5 separate regions of the Homo sapiens genome follow, and regions 2, 3, 4 and 5 are each linked to region 1. The links are contacts of gene promoters, found by promoter capture Hi-C in blood cells and fetal thymus (Javierre and others, 2016). All regions are on one chromosome and are shown on one strand. Each heading gives the region's core, a stretch centred on a gene start or on the middle of the fragment in contact. The rest is flanking DNA. Distances are from core to core; before and after follow the strand shown.

What was found. Contacts are between HindIII fragments. The CHiCAGO score rates a contact against its expected background, and 5 or more counts as called.
Region 2: a contact is called between a fragment that was not itself captured here and the fragment with the promoter of TMEM127 in region 1, in 5 of 17 cell types (total CD8 T cells, naive CD8 T cells, activated CD4 T cells and 2 more). The highest score is 7.6, in total CD8 T cells.
Region 3: a contact is called between a fragment that was not itself captured here and the fragment with the promoter of TMEM127 in region 1, in 9 of 17 cell types (monocytes, total B cells, non-activated CD4 T cells and 6 more). The highest score is 8.2, in monocytes.
Region 4: a fragment that was not itself captured here is called in contact with the fragment with the promoter of TMEM127 in region 1 in 1 of 17 cell types (total CD8 T cells); the score reaches 9.1 in total CD8 T cells.
Region 5: a contact is called between a fragment that was not itself captured here and the fragment with the promoter of TMEM127 in region 1, in 2 of 17 cell types (monocytes and M0 macrophages). The highest score is 7.0, in monocytes.

The regions. Positions count from the first base shown.
Region 1 is chr2:96,264,202-96,267,853 of GRCh38, reverse strand. TMEM127 (transmembrane protein 127) reads left to right here and starts at 1,857. Exons shown (of 4, transcript NM_017849.4): 1 at 1,857-1,985; 2 at 2,342-2,716. The coding sequence starts at 2,473. CIAO1 (cytosolic iron-sulfur assembly component 1) reads right to left here and starts at 1,629. Exons shown (of 7, transcript NM_004804.3): 1 at 1,365-1,629; 2 at 385-533; 3 at 118-229; 4 at 1-18. The coding sequence starts at 1,503. RefSeq lists enhancers at 1-440, 1,038-1,317, 1,548-1,737 and silencers at 1,968-2,017, 2,028-2,237, 2,288-2,597. The HindIII fragment of the contact is 2,360 bases long and covers 695-3,054 here.
Region 2 is chr2:96,574,966-96,578,336 of GRCh38, reverse strand. No RefSeq gene overlaps it. Among named protein-coding and RNA genes, the nearest start is that of ARID5A, 40 kb to the right of the region's middle. The HindIII fragment of the contact is 2,624 bases long and covers 336-2,959 here.
Region 3 is chr2:96,744,116-96,747,781 of GRCh38, reverse strand. No RefSeq gene overlaps it. Among named protein-coding and RNA genes, the nearest start is that of LMAN2L, 5.9 kb to the right of the region's middle. The HindIII fragment of the contact is 2,172 bases long and covers 581-2,752 here.
Region 4 is chr2:96,710,596-96,714,001 of GRCh38, reverse strand. LMAN2L (lectin, mannose binding 2 like) reads left to right here. Exons shown (of 8, transcript NM_030805.4): 5 at 1,977-2,138; 6 at 2,232-2,346. Among named protein-coding and RNA genes, the nearest start is that of LMAN2L, 28 kb to the left of the region's middle. The HindIII fragment of the contact is 1,100 bases long and covers 1,599-2,698 here.
Region 5 is chr2:96,651,692-96,655,321 of GRCh38, reverse strand. FER1L5 (fer-1 like family member 5) reads right to left here. Exons shown (of 53, transcript NM_001293083.2): 7 at 3,302-3,430; 8 at 1,620-1,682; 9 at 826-876. Among named protein-coding and RNA genes, the nearest start is that of FER1L5, 11 kb to the right of the region's middle. The HindIII fragment of the contact is 3,620 bases long and covers 1-3,232 here.

The sequences.
Region 1 (3,652 bases), core at 608-3,107:
ACTCATCCTCTTCATCAACTGTGGGAGAGAAAAAGGGGACCCAAGAGCCGACCCTGTCAGGGACACAGAGGGGGCTGTCAGGTGGTTCCCAATCCACCTGGAGGGACCTGGCCTCACCTTCCCAGACCCAAACGCTCTTATCTCGGCTGCAAGTGGCCAGGAGGTTGCCAGATGGGGCCCAAGCCACTGACTTGACCTCATTTTCATGGCCCTCGAGAGTGGTTACACACTGTGAAAGGGGAAAGAAAATGAGAATTAACAGCAGCTAACACCCCTAAGCCCCTTCCCATGGGTACAGCCCAACTGGCGCAGGTTGGCTCAGGTTCCTGAACCAGCCCTGGGGAGGAAACAGGCAATAATTCTGGTCCCAACCAGCCTGGGTACCTCAAAGTCATCCTGGTTCTTCTTCCAAATGCAAGTGGTAGCATCAAAGCTGGCAGAGGCCAGGTAATTACCGCAGGGGGACCAGGCTACCTTCCGCACGGTGCGCTGGTGGCCTTCAGAAAGGACAGACTTGCAGATCCAGCTGTCACCTAAAGGCGGAGCGCAGGCCAGGCTCTGGAGCTGGGTGCAGCACCATGAAGCCATTCAATATCAGGGGCTAGCACTGGAATCAAGCTAGTGGGGGAAAGCTCAGGGAGTGTATTTCACAGCTTTTACAAAGATGCAAATGAATCTACTTCGTCTGGAAGCTTTTTTTTTTTTTTTTTTTTTTTTTTGAGACGGAGTTTTTGCTCTGATGCCCAGGCTGGGGTGCAATGGCACAATCTCGGCTCACTGCAATCTTCGCCTCCTGGGTTCAAGGGATTCTCCTGCCTCAGCCTCCCGAGTAGCTGGGATTACAGGTGCCCGCCACAACGCCCAGCTAATTTTGTAGTTTTAGTAGAGACGGGGTTTCACCATGTTGGCCAGGCTGGTCTTGACCTCTTGACCTCAGGTGATCTACCCGCCTCTGCTTCCCAAACTGCTAGGATTACAGGCGTGAGCCACCGCGCCCAACCTCTGGAGGCATCTTTCTAAAACAAATCTGATCTAAAATTGCTATTGGTTCCCCAATGCCCTCGGGATAAAATGTGACCATCCAGTCGCAAGTTACTCTGAAGGCCACTTTCCTAACACCTCTCTTTTCCCATTTTCCTGCCTCTGCAGCTAACACAATTCCCTTGACATTTCAGCTTGTCTGCTGACGTTTTTCCTCCCAACAGTCGCAGACTTCTTTGCCTGTAAAGCCCTTCTCGGCGTGGCTAACATCCCACTCTCCCTCCGCCAGGAACAGGTTCAGCCTCCCCTGCAGGCTGAGCGCCTGCACTACGCGCAGGCTGAGCCCTCAGCGCTGAGGGCCGCGCAACCAGGCTGGGCCTTACCCTCCGTGCCCCAGATGCGGATTCTCCGGTCGCCGCCGCACGAGGCCAGCAGGGTCCCCGCGGGGTTCCAGGCCAGGAACCAGCAGCGGGAGTCCGGGTGCGCCGGGACACGGCCCAGCAGCACCAGCGAGTCCTTCATGTCGGCCCGACGCAGGGGGAGGTGGGGGCGGGCAGAGTCCGCTGAGCAGACAGCGGGTCTCACCGCGCGCGTCTGCGTACCGCCCACTCCAGGCTTCCGCGGCCGACAGAGGCTCCCGCTTCCGCCGGAGGACCTGGGTCGCCCCGGAAACTCAACTGCCCACTGCTGCGGCCGCCATACCCTCTGGGAGTTGTAGTCGCTCCCCTCACCTCGGCAGGGAAAGCATCGCGGGACCGCCTCGAACTACCAGTCCCGTGAGGCCCTGCGCAGAGCCGGCGGCGCGCCCAGGCTGTGACGCGCGCGGGGGACGGGGCGGGGAGCCGGAGGAGGCGGAGGCAGAGGAGGAGGAAGCCGGAAGTGCATCGGCCCCGGGTCTGTCCGGGCGTTGCGGGATTGGGGCCTGGGAACGCTCGGCCCCCGGCAGCCGAGAAGCCCGTGACTGGGCTGAGCAGCACCATCCCAGCCCTGGGGCCTGCTGACTGGTGAGGAACAGTGGGCGGCGTGGGGAGGGTCTTTTCTGCGCACAGGTCGCACCCCAAACCGCCGGTCCCAGATCACGGGTCCCCGATCCCCGCGGCCCAGCCCGGTCCTCCGCCCCTCGGCATCCTCTGGCTGAGACCCTGACTCCGGGTCTTTGCTCTAGCAGTAGCCGATCCCCGATCCCTCCGCCCCCCACTCGAGTCTGCCCAGACCCCATCTGGCCCCTGGCCCTCTTCGGTTGTCGTCCCGCAGTCCCATTCCGGAGTCTCCTGTCTCCGCCCCCCGAATTCCCGCAGCCCTCCCCGTCTCCGTCAGCCCCGGGTCCCACCCCCCTATCCTCTGGTGTCAACCCTGACAGCCCAGTCCCGGCTTCACCTGCAGCGAACCCGGAGCGTTGCTATCCTCCACCGGACTGTCAGGCTCTGCGCGCCCCGCGGAGGTCGGCGGCGACCAGCAGCGACTGCGGAGCGACGGCGGGCGGCCCCGGGCATGTACGCCCCCGGAGGCGCAGGGCTGCCCGGCGGGCGCCGGCGGAGGAGCCCGGGAGGCAGCGCTCTGCCCAAGCAGCCGGAGCGTAGCCTGGCCTCGGCCCTGCCTGGCGCCCTGTCTATCACGGCGCTGTGCACTGCCCTCGCCGAGCCCGCCTGGTTGCACATCCACGGAGGCACCTGTTCGCGCCAGGAGCTGGGGGTCTCCGACGTGTTGGGCTATGTGCACCCGGACCTGCTGAAAGGTGAGGGTGCTGCGCGCTGGCCCTTAAAGCCTCGGTGGGGGACAGAATGTGTTCTGGCTGAAGCAGAGATAGCCAGGGACCAGACACTTGGTTGAAGGAAACGGCCCCATAACTGCCTGGTGTTCATGCCCACCAGGTGGCTCTGTTTGGGGTCCGGCCCCTCATTAATTCTGATGTTATTCAGCTAAGCACCTACTCCTCACAGCCATGTTAATCCGGACTGCTGCTATTTTAGGATTCTGCTGGAGGAAGGACGCTGTGTATCGAGAAAAGATAAGGGTGCTAGGTATCACAGTTAGCTGGCCTCTTCTAAGGATCCTGTGAAATACGGAAAAGCTTCTTTGGGGCAGACTGATTAATGGAGAAAAAGGAACTTTTAATATGACTAGGTTTTAAAAGATATCTTAGAGTTCTATGGTAATCGGATGCGTATTAGAGAAGAAGGGAATCTGTGGCATTTTAGGTAATCGGAAGACCGTTCCATTGCCACCCGCAGTACAACAGTCGGAATGTGGCTCTTGGAACCATTATAGGTGTGCCTGACAGAGGCAAGGTTGCTTTGTTCATCATCATGCTTTCCGGCCAGATAGACAGCAGACGATGGGAGGGTCCTATGGGCCCCATAGTTTATCCTGCCCATTCTTGTCTCCAGTAAAAATTGTGAAGTGTGAGGACAGGACTGGACTGTATCACCTGCTTTTTACCCTAACAATGATCAATGTACCCCAAACAGTCCTTAGTAACAGCATAGTTCATCAACCCCAAGGTCTTTTGAGCCATCTTGAAGGTCTTATATCCTCTCTGTGCTATCCTGTCTGTGCTATTCCCTGGCTGTGATGCATTCCAGATGTTTACTGCACCGCCTATCAGAAGCACTTCCTGTTAGATATCTGCGTGTTACCTCCTGAAGAATTCAGGCACTGGGATTTGGTGAAA
Region 2 (3,371 bases), core at 398-2,897, 310 kb before region 1:
AAAAAAAATTTTTTTTAATTAGCCAGACATGGTGGCATGCACCTGTAGTCCCAGTTACTCAAGAGACTGAGGTGGGAAGGTTTCTTGAGCCCGAGAGTTCAAAGCTTCGGTAAGCCATGATTGAGCTACTGCACTCCATATCCTGGGAGACGGAGCAAGACCCTGTCTCAAAAAAAAAAAAGAAATAAAAAAAGAATTAGGACCCTGGCCCCCATTCTCAGCTCTGTCTCTGTGTCATTTGTTAATTCTGAGTCCTGCTTGCATCTTGGCATTGATTCCACCCACCCCCTCCTCCCCCAAGTAGGGAGAACAATAACAATGCTTACATTCAAGCTTTATCCTAGGCCATCATTACTGGTATTCTATAGTTCAGGGAAAAACTGAGGCACAGAGAGGTTAAGTAACTTGCCCAAATCACACAGCTGGTAAGTGGCAGAACCATAGCCGAATTCTGGCAGTCCACTGCAAAGCCCACTCTCAAGCAATCTCTAATCGCAATGACTTGGCTCTCAGGGTTGTGGTGGGTAAGCCTGCTGTGCTCGGAAACTGAATAGTAGCTCATGGCCTATCCATGATAGGTAAAGGGTTGATTGGTTGCAAACCTCTTATCTAAATGGCCTGTAAAAGCACACACTGTGCTTGCTCACAGTGCCCAGAGACCACGTGGGAGGTGCCAAATATGGGTGGTAACAGGCAAGGAAGAGGGAGTATCTGTACCAAATCTGGTTTTGAGGAAGAATTGTATGTCATGTTGAATTGACAGTCTGGCTAATTGGATGGGTAGATGGCTCCTACATGGGTGTCGTAGGCTCTGGCAATGCTGGGCATCCCATTTTCCCATAACTTGTCAGGCTTAAAGTGATTACTGAGGAAGGTGGAAACCAGGCTTGACCACTTGGTTCTTGGTCCATGTGTTCAGACTTCCCTAGAGAGCACCTGTCCTGGAGGATCTAAGCCAGGGCTTCTCATGGTGAGCCCTCTCCGAGAGTGGAGAAGCAGACCAAGGCAGTGGGGAGTGGGACTCTTCTTATGTGGATCATGCCCAGCACCAAATGAGATTGATTCCAGATTAGGTCAGCAGTCATTCTAGACCAGATGGTCCCTATGGAAAAAAAGTGGAGAGTTAGAACAGGGAAGGGTGAGCAGCAAAAGATGCAAAGGAGAGGGAAAACTGGAACAAGGGACAATAATTTCAAATCTGTAGGTTTGTCTTTTTCCCTCTCTTCCTAAGCAGTTTAGTCCTAAAGCCACTAAATAATGCACAGCCAAAAGGGAAAATATTCGTGCATGTGGCAGGGGGAGAAGCCAGCACTAACTTTTGCTAGAAGTGTTCATTGGAGCCCCAGAAAATCCCCTGGGTTCCAGACCTAGTCCTCTGCCACGATCGTGTGGTAATAACCCCAATTTTCCCTTGATAATTGGGGTCAGTCACTTCAGCCCGCAAAGTCACTGCTCTTTTTTGATTTAATGTCATGAGGCACCCAAAAATGTCTAAATGGAGGCAGTCTCAGCTTCCAGTTTGATGGAGCCATTGTTGGGTCCCTGGTGGAAATAGTCCTCCCTTGGGAACCAAGACCTTCCAAGCAAGCAGAGCTCAAAATTGTGGAGATGAGAAGTGACTGGTCATTATGTGTGCTAGTGGGAAGACCTGCTTTCTTTTCTGTTCTTGCTTCCTGGGCCCATGAAGAGACAGCACTATGAATAGGTCTTTGATTTGAAGGATATATTGCATCCTATAAGATAAAACCCTATTCTTTCAGGGTGTTGACTCCCATCTGGTGCCCTAGGTAATTATCTAGTAGGCCATCCCACTGTTCAGACTGACCTCTTCACGATGGGATCTCTGGTAAGACCAATGAGTTTCATGAACCACAAGCCCATTGTTGCAAGCCTCTGTAATGCATGCCTTCCAGTGAGTATCCACATCAGATATTTGGGACCCAAATATCTGTTCCCCTTTGTGCCCAGTTTGAGAAGTTTATCTATATAATTTCCCCAGATCTCATCACCAATGTTCCAACCCTTGTCCCTCCATAACCATCCAGTCATTAATTAGAAATCTTCCTTTAGTCAGCAGATCTGTACTTCTGGTCATCTCTCAGTTCAAACAAAGTGGATAACCAAACAGCTCCAAGTTCTGCTGAATAGGAAGTCTTCTGTTTATCACTGTCCTTCAGAGACACCCAAGTGAGATTGTAATATTGCCATCCACTTTCTGTTGGTTCCAACATATAGAGAACTGCCTGCAAATCAAGCCCAGATTATTTCCTTCTCAGCTACCTAGTCATAAGGAACTCCCAGCAGGCATAGATGAGGATTGAGGGGGAGGAGGCAATGCAGCCAGAGTCAGTGTCGAAGGAGTCTGACTTACTTCTGTCCTCTGGACCTGCTTGAGTCCAGCCTTTTCTATTTTTGCTGCACAGGTCTAATCTGTGGCTAGGTGTGTCAATAACTATAAATTCATGATGGAAAGCTCAGGTCACAAGGTTACTTGATATCTCATGGTTCAGTGTTTATTCTTTACTAAGGGCCAGTAGAAAAGCAGAATCTTTTTCAAACAGATATTAGTTACTTGGAGAAGAGGGCATGGATTTGCCTCCACACTCCAGAGTTCTGTACTGTGATTGTCCTATTAATGCTTGTCACAGGCTCCACAGACCAGCCTGTTTGTCACAGGCACTTTTACTAGCATTGGATCTGTGGGGTCATAAGGCTTGTTCTTCAGCCTGGGCTTGATGCAGAGCAAGAGATTGCTTTAGTCTCTGCTCAAAATTGATTACTCAGTAAATGGGTTGAAATAACACACTCAAGTTTGGTATGCATTGCCTCCAAATGCCAAGAAGGATCCACCAAGGATTTTCTTTATTTTTTAGTTGTAGGTGATGCAAAGTACAGCAACTTGTCTTTTGCCTTGGAGAGGCAATCTTAACAAGCTCGTCACACTAGATCTCTGGAAGCTTTGAGATCATAAGCCTTTGAATTTTCATGGGGTTTATCTCCCACCCTCTGTTTACGTGCATGCCTCCAAGATATCTAAACTATTTTGCATTTTCTGCTCATCACATCCAATCAGTATAAATGTCAGTTTAGCAGATGGGTATAATGTCAAGATCTCCACACACTGTGTTATGTTAGGAGGAGAATTCACAATACTATGAAGGTCTTGTCAGGTAAAAGCTCATGGTTCTTACCAAGGGGAATGGAGGAAAAAACATTTTCCAGGCCAATAGGTGCATGGCAGGTGTCAGGGGCTTTGTTGATTTGTTCCAGTAAATATACTACATCAGAACAGGAGTTGCAGTCAGACCTACCACTTGATTAATTTTATGATAATCCACAGCCATTACCCAAGATCTAAGTATGTTCTTCAC
Region 3 (3,666 bases), core at 417-2,916, 480 kb before region 1:
CTCTGTGGGAAGCAAGCATCTGGATCCCCAGAGGCATTGCTGAATTGTGGGAGCTCTGCCACTGCAAGGAGAGCCACCATAGATCTGAGATCTGGTCCTCAGGATACTGGTTTTTATCAATTCCCCTGCAAATAAACAGACTGGGAGGGCTAAGTCACTCTGGCTAAACTAATAACTAAGTGATAAACCCAAATACACACTAATTTCTTAATTTATACAGAAAAATTAAACTGCTAAGAGGATTAGAACGTTAGGCTGGAAGTCTTTATAAATACGCTCAGAAAATAGGCTTTATTTGAATAAAGTTATATGGAGATCTAACACAGGCTGCTTAGAAGCACTCTCTTTCCTGGACAGAACTGATACAACTCTGACTTATTTTCATCCCTTGACTGTTCTTTTTCTAGATTGCAGACGCCTCTCTCTTTAGTTATGACAACATTATATTGGATGGGTCACAATGAACTTTACTAGATTATAGTTAATTACAGTTTTCCTTCCCTCAGGGAAATTTAGAAAACACCACAAATGCATACCCAGCATATTTCCTCATCATCTCCACGGGAGACTTTGAGAAGCTTTTCCTTACGGCAACTCTCACACATCCATGAAGCTGGAGGGAGTGTTGTGCACCCCTATCTCAGCTGCAGCAGTTCTCAACATCCTGATGCTTTTTTTGTTTATCCATCCTACCCTTCTAAACACACACACACGATATTCCTCTAGAGTATCTTAAAGCAAATCTTTAATTCTTATCTTTAAATTCAGGAGTTGGAGCCTCTATGAACTGTTCTTGTCATTTTTTTTTTTTAAGAGATAGGGTCTTTCTCTGTCACCCAGGCTGGAGTGGAGTGGCCTGATCATGGCTCACTACAGCCTTGACCCCCGGGGTAAAATGTCGCAGCCTCCCAAGTAGCTGGGCCTACCGGCGCACACTAGCACACCCAGACAATTTTTTGTATTTTTTGTATTTTTTAGAGACGGGGTCTTACTATGTTGCCCAGGCTGGTGTCAAACTCCTGAATTCAAGTGATCCTCCTGCCTCGGCCTCCAAAGTGCTCGTACTGCAGGTGTGAGCCACTGAGCCCAGCCTGTCCTAATCTTAAAGATTACCACAACAAGTCATTGTGAGGTCAAAATGAGATACTGCATGTGAAAGGGCTGTAGTTCTGAAAACTGGGCTGCGTATTAAATTCTCTGGTGGAGGGTGGGGTGGGCACGATGGCTCATGCCTATAATTCCAACACTTTCGAGGGCCAAGGTAGTAGGATGCCTCGAGCCCGGGAGTTCAAGACCAGCCTGGGCAAATAGCAAGACATTATCTCTACAAAAAATAAAATAATAGCCAGGCATGGTGACACCTGACTGTATTCCAACTACTCAGAAGGCTAAGGCAGGAGGATCCCTTGAGCCCAGGAGTTTGAGCCAGGAGAATCCCTTGAGCCCAGGAGTTTGAGGCTGCAGTTCACACCACTGCACTCTAGCCTGGGTGACAGAACAAGACCCCATCTCTTAAAAGAAAAAAAAAAAGGCCAGGCATGGTGGCTCACGCCTGTAATCCCAGTACTTTGGGACGCTGAAGTGGGCGGATTGCTTGAACCCAGGAGTTCGAGACCAGCCTGGCCAACATGGTGAAACCCCGTCTCTACAAAAAATATAAAATTTAGCTGGGTGTGGTGGCATGTGCCTGTGGTCCCAGCTACTCAGGAGGCTGAGGTGGGAGGATGGCTTGAGCCTGGGAGGCAGAGGTTGCAGTGAGCTGTGATCACACCACTGCCCTCCACTGGGTGATAGAGTGAGACTCTCTCTCAAAAAAAAAAATTAAATTCTCCAGGTTTTATTTTTTTTTCTTCAAAGCTAAATCCCTACACTTGTTGAGTCACGTGTCTGGCAGTAGGGCTCAGGCAAAGGTACCTACCCCAGGATATTTGACTGTGGCTTTCAGGAGTCCAATGTTGAGAAGTCACCGCTGGGAAGTAGCTAGCTAGTTAGTGTTGGAGCTGCTATCCTCTTGTATGCTTCAGTGGCTACCTGGGGAACTGGAGGTACAGTTGGTAGGACCCGGTCAGCTGTGACTATTGGGCTGAAGATGGACCTGACACACTGGATACCTGAGGATGGATGGATGGTTGTACTTGGCCTAGGGAGGGCTGCTTCTGTCCTGGGAGGGGGTGGATCAGAATTGAATGGCAAGGTTTGTAAAAGAAGGGTGAGAAGCAGTGGAAAGAATAGGCCAAGAGGCTGCCCTGGAGCCTCTGTCATGGGGTGAAGGGGCATCAGGCTTCAAGGTGCTCCTGAGTGGAGGTACTTCTTTGGTTGTTGTTGTTTTTAATTTTTTAAAAGGGACAGGGTCTCAACATCTTGCCCAGGCTGATCTTGAACTCCTGGGCTCAAGCGATCCTCCCAAAGTGCTAGAATTACAGGCATGAGCCACTGCGCCCAGCCCTGCTCTTTGGTTTGGAAGACAGGAAGGTAGAGGAATCATGCAGAACTGCTGGAATGCACAACTCACATTGCATATGAATACCCCGGCCCTGAAGTTGTGCAGCCCTAGATCGTGGGAGATAGATGATTCCACAGAGAAAAAGGGGACCACTAGGCAGCTGAAAGGATGGTAGCGCAAGACCTGAGCCAGCTTTCGGAGGTGCCTCTGCGTGTGAGTAAAAGGTGGCGTTGAAGGGGCCATGGCTACTTGTTCTCTTTCCCACTACCACCCCTCAACACCTTGACTGTGTTGAACTTAGCTGAAGCTTGTGCTTCTGAAAAGCACCTACAGTAAAGAAATTCCCCATCCTTTTGTCTTCCTTCCATCTCACTTTGTAGACTCCGTTGTCCAGGCTGGAGTATAGTGGCGCGATCTTGGCTCACTGCAACCTCTGCCTCCCAGGCTCAAGAGATTCTCATATCTCAGCCTCCCAAGTAGCTGGGATTACACACACGTGCCATGATGCCCGGCAAATTTTTTATGTATTTTTAGTAGAGACAGGGTTTCACCATGTTTGTTGGCCAGGCTGGTCTTAAACTCCTGACATATGATCTGTCCGCCTCAGCATCCCAAAGCGCTGGGATTACAGGCATGAGCCACTGCGCCCAGCTGAGAGATGGCTGTCTTAACGGACTACCCTGCTCTGGAATATCCCAAGATAAGACCCACTTCCACCCTTCCTCAGTGACTCAGATAAGACCCTCTCCATCCTTCCTCTCACGAAAGATCCCTTGTTTACCTGGATTACCCCAGGTCTCCTTCCTTTTGTTTTGCTTTGAGATGGAGTTTCACTCTTGTTGCTCAGGCTGGAGTGCAATGGCGTGATCTCGGCTCACTGCAACCTCCGCCTCCTGGGTTCAAGCAATTCTCCTGCCTCAGCCTTCCAAGTAGCTGGGATTACAGGCACCATGCCTGGCTAATTTTTGTATTTTTAGTAGAGACAGGGTTTCACCATGTTGGCCAGGCTGGTCTCGAACTCCTGACCTCAAATGATTCCGCCCTCCACCCCCACCTCGGCCTCCCAAAGTGCTGGGATTGCAGGTGTGAGCCACCGAGCCCCGCCTGTCCTTCCTTTCCTTTTTTTTTTCTTTTGAGATGGAGTCTCACTCTGTTGCTCAGGCTCGAGTGCAGTGGCATGATCTTGGCTCACTGCAACCTCTTCCTCCTGGGTTCAAGCGATT
Region 4 (3,406 bases), core at 899-3,398, 450 kb before region 1:
TGTAGTAGGTGTTCACCGTATTAAAGGAGTGAAGGGTTTGAGTTCTGTACCCTCGCCTACCTGTCCCACAGGGCAGAGCTGAGCTGAGCTTGTGTAGGTACCTCTTGTCGCTAATGGCTTAGAACTGCAGCTGTTTGCTGGAGCAGAGCTTAATACCCTCACGCCTGATGATTTTCTAAATCTGTCATTCTGCAATGCCTCCATGGAGCTTCTTCCTTGCCTATGTGTGGTAGGTTAGAATGACAATAGTTATTTGGGAATATATGACCATAAGGCTCAGTTAGAGGGTAAGTGATCCCTTTGGATTAGAGTTAGTTTCATAGTCTCTCAAGTGGCAAGATTTTGGTCTTCTGGGCAGGAGCTGTTTCCTGAGATCCTGGATAGTAAAGGATGTCTTGAATTTGGAAGAATTTAGCCCTGTTGTCTCCTCTTTCCCCTTGCTATAGAAATACAGTAGGCTGGGTACAGACAAACTTGAGACTGACTCCCAGAGACATAAGTGCGGCGTGCCTGGACAGCGTACTGCTATGTGTTTTATAAAGTGCCTTCCAAAAGCTTCAGGACCCTCTATGGGTTAGAGCGGTCTTCCTAGGGGACCCCTTTGAGAATCTGATATAGTAACAGACCCTCTCCTCAGAAAAATGTACAAGCACCCGTGCATATGGTTTTGCCTATCATCTTGAGGGTGCAAAGACTTCACGGATGCCCTTCAGGGACCCTAAAATTCTGTTTGGGGATTTAAGTTGGTTTGTTCATCCATCACAGCTGGGTCATAGCTCTTCTGTGGCTGTGTCTTTCTGACTTGGTCTCCTGTCTTCTGTGCCCTCTCTTGTTTTTATCATAACCTGCTGGACCCTCTCAGGCCCAGAAGAGGCGATATTCTCCAGGAGTCCAGGTACTCAGTTCTTGGCTCATCATGAGCATCCCTCATTCCCATGTGTCCATCCAACATTTGTTGCTGTTTCAAGTCCATGTGGTTGTCTCAGGAGTCCCCGGTCTCTGGTCTCGACTGCATCTCCATCTTGCATGTTAACCATTTGGGACAAAGGGACAAATACTCCCCAAAGGAGTGGCATGCCTCATGTTACCCCTTCACCACCTCACTACCCTGCCTTTTTGCACTGCCTTGGCATTGGGCTTGTTCTGGAATGATTAGTTCGCCATTTCTAAGGAAGAATTGCTCCTACAACTCTACTGGGGAGAGAGGGCCCCTGAAATAGATGGGAAAATGAGTGGCTTATGGGAAAACTTGCAATTTTCTCCCTGTTAAGGGAGAACCTTGCCCTCTTATTATTATTCGGAGAAGTTACGTGTGGAGGAGGCTTAAGTGGGCTGGAAAGTCTTTTGACTAAGGACAGTCATTGTGGCTGGCTGAGCCCATCCAGCAACCCCGTTCCATGTTCTGAGTTCTAATCCATTTAGCCTTATATGCTTATAGAATTTTAGAATTGAAAAGAGCTATCCTGAATGGAAAGATTCCCCTGCTCAAACAGGTATTTTCAGAATACCCGCTGTGTGCAGAACCATGGTTGGGAGGAGATGGGGCTGAAGTTTAGACATATGAAGACGTGATGAATGAATTTTTTCTTCAAGAAGCTTATGTGGCAGTTGGGGAGATAGGTACATATACACGAAAAGGAAACCCCTGGTATTAGGCGGCACATAAGTGCCAAATGGTGACCTTGGGGCATTCAAGTCAGACTCCAGCGTCTTAGGAGGACCACTTCAGGCCCACCCCAGTTCAGGAGCCAAGAGAATTACTGAAGGCAAATACCAAGTGTAGTCGCTTCCTGGGCCCATTTCCCTTGAGAGACCATCTGAATGTGGGCTCTCAGGGGCTGCTGACAATGAGGTCGAGTGGCTGCCTATTCTGCTGTAAGGGGCTCAACTTGTATGTGCTGAATTCCTGTTGCTGTTTGTACAGGCGTTCCTATGTGCTCTTCCTTAGTGTCTGCTTCCCCCTCTCTGCTTTCCAGCGGGTATTCCCCTACATCTCAGCCATGGTGAACAACGGCTCCCTCAGCTATGATCATGAGCGGGATGGGCGGCCTACAGAGCTGGGAGGCTGCACAGCCATTGTCCGCAATCTTCATTACGACACCTTCCTGGTGATTCGCTACGTCAAGAGGCATTTGACGGTGAGAGTCCTTGTCCTGGACCAGATGGTGGTGTGGGCTGTGTCGCTCTTGCTCCCATGGCCTGACCCTGATTTATCTCTCTTTTTATTCTAGATAATGATGGATATTGATGGCAAGCATGAGTGGAGGGACTGCATTGAAGTGCCCGGAGTCCGCCTGCCCCGCGGCTACTACTTCGGCACCTCCTCCATCACTGGGGATCTCTCAGGTACTGCCACGCGCACTCTTGGTTTGCCCTGACTGAGGCCTCTTCTCAATACCCACACTTCATTGAGGCCTCTCACAGGGGAGAGCCAGAGGAGCGGTGCTCTGGAAGGAGGTGCCTCAAGACTGCTTCTCCTTCTGCATTCTTATATCCACATTCCTTAAAAACCCACGCCAGGCTTTCCTAGTACAGTTGTCACTAGAAGATGGTTGGTGCTAATAGAAAGCAGTGTTTGTCCCTTCATTAAGCTGGCTCTTCTAGCCTGTATCGTGAGTTCCTTGCTTTCTGATTTCTGCTGTCAGGCTCCTCTCCTTCCAACCACTAATGTTCCCCGTTCCCCTTCCTTAACAAAGCTTTTCCTTGACTTTGCCGTCCCTCTTCTGACCCCAGACTCTCCTTTTGCTGAGACTTTTGAATGTGTTGTGTGTACAGATCCTTTTGTTTCCTAGCTGTCCACCTCCTTAACATGCTGACTCAGACCTGTGCTCTATCTTGCTAGTACACTAACACCATTCTCATGAAAGGTCATTCTGTTTCCTTGCCATATTCAGTACTCTATTCTCGTTCTCACCCTTTGTCCTCCTCAGCTCATTTAACCCATTACCCTGAAACTCTTGCCTTCTTGACTTATGTGACATTAACAGCACCTGGTTCTTTTACTTTTCCATCTCCTCTTGTTTCTTTTTCTACTTATGCCTGATTCGTAGCTTCTCGTTTATACACTTACTCTCTTTGCTTGAACCCCAATCATAACATCTTTTGGGAAGAGAAAAGGAACTGAACTTCTGTTTCTTTTGATTAATATAATTTGTTCTGGATAAAGCTAGTTTGGAATAGAAGTTTCTTGTGGCAAAATAGAAAGGCAGATACCCATCTGAAAAAGCCGACAGCTAGTGAGCTCCAGCCATTGTAGCTAAAAGGAAATGTCAGCTCAGTGAGGCTAAATCTTCCAGTTTTTCAAGAGCAGTTGGAATTCTGGATTTTTTTTTATATATATATATGGAGTCTCGCTCTGTCGCCAGGCTGGGGTGCAGTGGCGCCATGTCAGCTCACTGCAACCTCC
Region 5 (3,630 bases), core at 173-2,672, 390 kb before region 1:
TTTCCTGATCTTTTTGGATTTGGAGAATCTTAGTTTAGCCCATCATGACTGTAAACTCTCCTAATCTCTCAGCCTGTCTTCCCAAATCACATCTTTTCACTCTGTCCTCACAGGCAGCAATATTTCTCTGAGTTTCCCTAACATGTAGGCTGACCTTTTGGATCCTCTGCTTCTACTTCCTGGAGGCAGAGATTTGAACTGTGTCCACAGTATCATGGGAGTGTGGAATTCAACATGGCGCCCTGAGCTTTCATAAACGTTATATATACTTTAATCCTCACAATCACCCCCCAGATCGAGTATATTATCATCTCCCTTTTAAAGATGAGGAAGTAGAGGTTCAGAATAACTTGTTTAAGTCACCCAGTTGGTAGGTGGATACAAGCCTGGATCTTTCTTCTTCTTTTTTTTTTTTTTTTTTTTGAGATGGAGTCTCACCCTGTCGCCCAGGCTGGAGTGCAGTGGTGCGGTCTCGGCTCACTGCAAGCTCCGCCTCCTGGGTTCAAGCAATTCTCCTGCCTCAGCCTCCTGAGTAGCTGGGACTACAGGCACCCGCCACCTCACCCCGCTAATTTTTTGTATTTCTAGTAGAGACAGGGTTTCACTGTGTTAGCCACGATGGTCTCGATCTCCTGACCTCGTGATCCACCGGCCTCGGCCTCCCAAAGTGCTGGGATTACAGGTGCGAGCCACTGCACCCGGCCAAGTCTGGATCTTTCTGTGTGAAAATCCAAGTCCTTTTCCCTAGACTTGGGCATGGAGCCCAGCATGGGTCTCTGTTTTAATAACTGTTTCACTGAACCTCCTCCCATGTACAGTACTCACTTGAAATCTCCCGATCTCTGCTTTGTATCTCATTGCTGAGGAGTTCACCACCTGCAAGGGAGTTCCCAGAAATATTTTAATTATTCACAATCCCAATTTCCCTCAGCCCCTGTAAGAGGTATAGCAAAGGCACAACCAGGATCCTCCTGACGTATTGAATGCTTCCTAATGGGGCAGACACTTGCACATGGGTGTTCTCATTTCACTCTCAGAGGAACCCTGTGAGGTTCAGATTTTTAATTCCATTTTACTGATGAGGAAATTGATCAGAGAGGTCAATTTCCTTGCCCCAAGTCAACACAAAGCAAGGTGTTGCACTCAACGTTATCCATTACATGCTCTCCTGGTTGTTTCCTCTGTGCCTTTGTTCCCAAGAACAGTAAATTCTTCAAAGGAAGAGGCCTCTTTGTTCTCCTTAGCCCTGTGCTGGGCACATAGTAGGCACCTGATAACCACATGTTCCACATTGTTACTGGCTCCCTTTGGTTAGGGAATGGAGTATTCTACTTGGAGGGGCCTTTGGTGGCTTGAAAATCCTGGCACATGGGAAGGGGCTGCCTTGTTCACCTTGGCGCCCAGTTCAGGGCCTGGCAGTTGGCAATCCACAACATTTGTTGAATAAATGAGTAAATGAATGAATAATCTGGGTGCCAGGGGGTGAAGAAAGTGGTGGGGATCAGGAAGACAATCTGAAGTGCCCCTGGCTCTAAGGGTGGGGGCTGGAGCTGTAGTGCTTCCCAGTATTGAAGTGGGACAAGAAACCCACCTTGCTGGGGACCAGTTTGGCTCCTCACCTGGATTAAGATGGTCTCATCAAAGAACTTTGCAGGAACCTCATGAAAATTCTGGAAGAAGATCTGAGGCAAAGAGAATTGGGGTAGAGTGGATGATTTCTTCCGCCACTTCACCCAAGCACTCAGTAAACCTGAAAGCTCAGAATAATGTGCTTCTTTCCACAACTTTACCCATTTCAATGGGTTTACAAGTACAGGCTGAGTATTCCTAATCCAAAAATCTGAAATAAAAAATGCTCCAAAATCTGAAACTTTCTGAGTGCCAACATGACCCTCAAAGGAAATGCTCACTGGAGCATTCTGGGTTTCAGATTTTCATTATTACGAATGCTGAACTGGTACAATGCAAATATTCCAGATTCCCAAAAAAAATCTGAAATCCAAAACACTTCTGATACCATGCATTTTGGGTAAGGGATACTCAACTTGTGCCACTTCTCTCATGCTCCCCCAGAAGCAGAGGCCTCCCGGGCTCCTAGAGGGTTTCCTATTTTTAGGCGGAGTCTCGCTCTGTCACCTAGGCTGGAGTGTGGTGGTGCAATCTCAACTCACTGCAACCTCGGGTTCAAACGATTCTCCTGCCTCAGCCTCCTGAGTAGATGGGATTACAGGCACCTGCCACTGCATGTGGCTAATTTTTGTATTTTTACAAAAGAGACAGGGTTTCACCATATTGGTCAGGATGGTTTCGAACTCCGGACCTCAGGTGATCCACTCACCACGGTCTCCCAAAGTTCTGGAATTACAGGCATGAGCCACCAAGCCCAGCCTCCTGGAGGGTTTTCTGCCCAGAATGGGGAATGGTAGGAGATTCCTGGAGAACTCAGGGCCCAGCTAGCTGCCCAGGATGGAGATTTGAGCCCACACCTCCTTCTAGGTTGCCCTGCCAGTCCACTCTGTCCCTGCTCCCCGTGGCAGCCAGAAACTTCTTTCCCAAATGCAAACCTAGGCCTGTCACTCCTCTGCTTAAGTCCTCCATGGCTCCTGAGTAGTGTCCAGGATGGGACCCCAGCCCACACTGTAGGCTCCCCTCCAGCCAGTCTCCTCCAGCCACACCCATAGCTATAGTTCTGCTGTCAAGTCTGCGGCTTGCTTGGTTCCAGGCCTTTGAAAACACCATGACTTTTTCCTGAATTATCTTTTCCCATCCTGTCTGTCTTTCCCTGGTAAAATCTTCCTTCAGGGTTGCTGGAGCCCTTCTGAGTCCTCTCCGCCACCCCCAGCCTCATTACTCACTTACTCCTTCCAGCTTCCACTGTGCTTTTATCTTTTATTTGTTCATTTACTAATTAATTCAACAAGTATTTATGGAGCACCTACTGTGTATCAGGCACAGTGCTACAATTTGGGGCTCCAGCAGCAATGAGACATACATGGTCTGGGTCTGTGCTTCGAACCTCCAATAGCAATACTCCCAGACCTCTGTAAACCAGGATCTGCTCTGTTGTAATTGTTTACGGATTCATGAGTTGTGCCCCCACCAGCCCACCAGCTCCTCAGATACAGGGCTCTGAGTTATACTGTTCTGTATTTTCAGTGCTTGGCCCTCAGTAGACACTCAGTAAATGCTTGTGGAACAAACACATGAAGACACCCTAGTCAAGGAGCAAGCTTGCCGGCTGCCCACCGGGGATGCCCAGCCCTTGGCTGGCTCCTTGCCTGATGTGCCCCGTTCAGCCCACCTCATTAAAGAAAGGGTTGTTTCCCATCTTGATGCGTGTCTGGTGCTGCTGGCCTGCGATGGACACCTTCACCACTGGTTTGATGTTGTTGCCCATGAGCTGTCGGGCTTCAAACACCTTCACTCGAACCTAAGGGCGGAACACATGGGGAGCTGATATTGAGGGCCTTCTGTAGCTGGGACAACATTGTTCTGATAAGAAAACATTCTAGGCCAGGTGCAATGAGTGGCTCATGCCTGTAATCCCAGCACTTTGGGAGGCCGAGGTGGGAGAATCGCTTGAGCCCAGGAGTTCGAGACCAGATTGACTGGGCAACATGGCAAAACCCC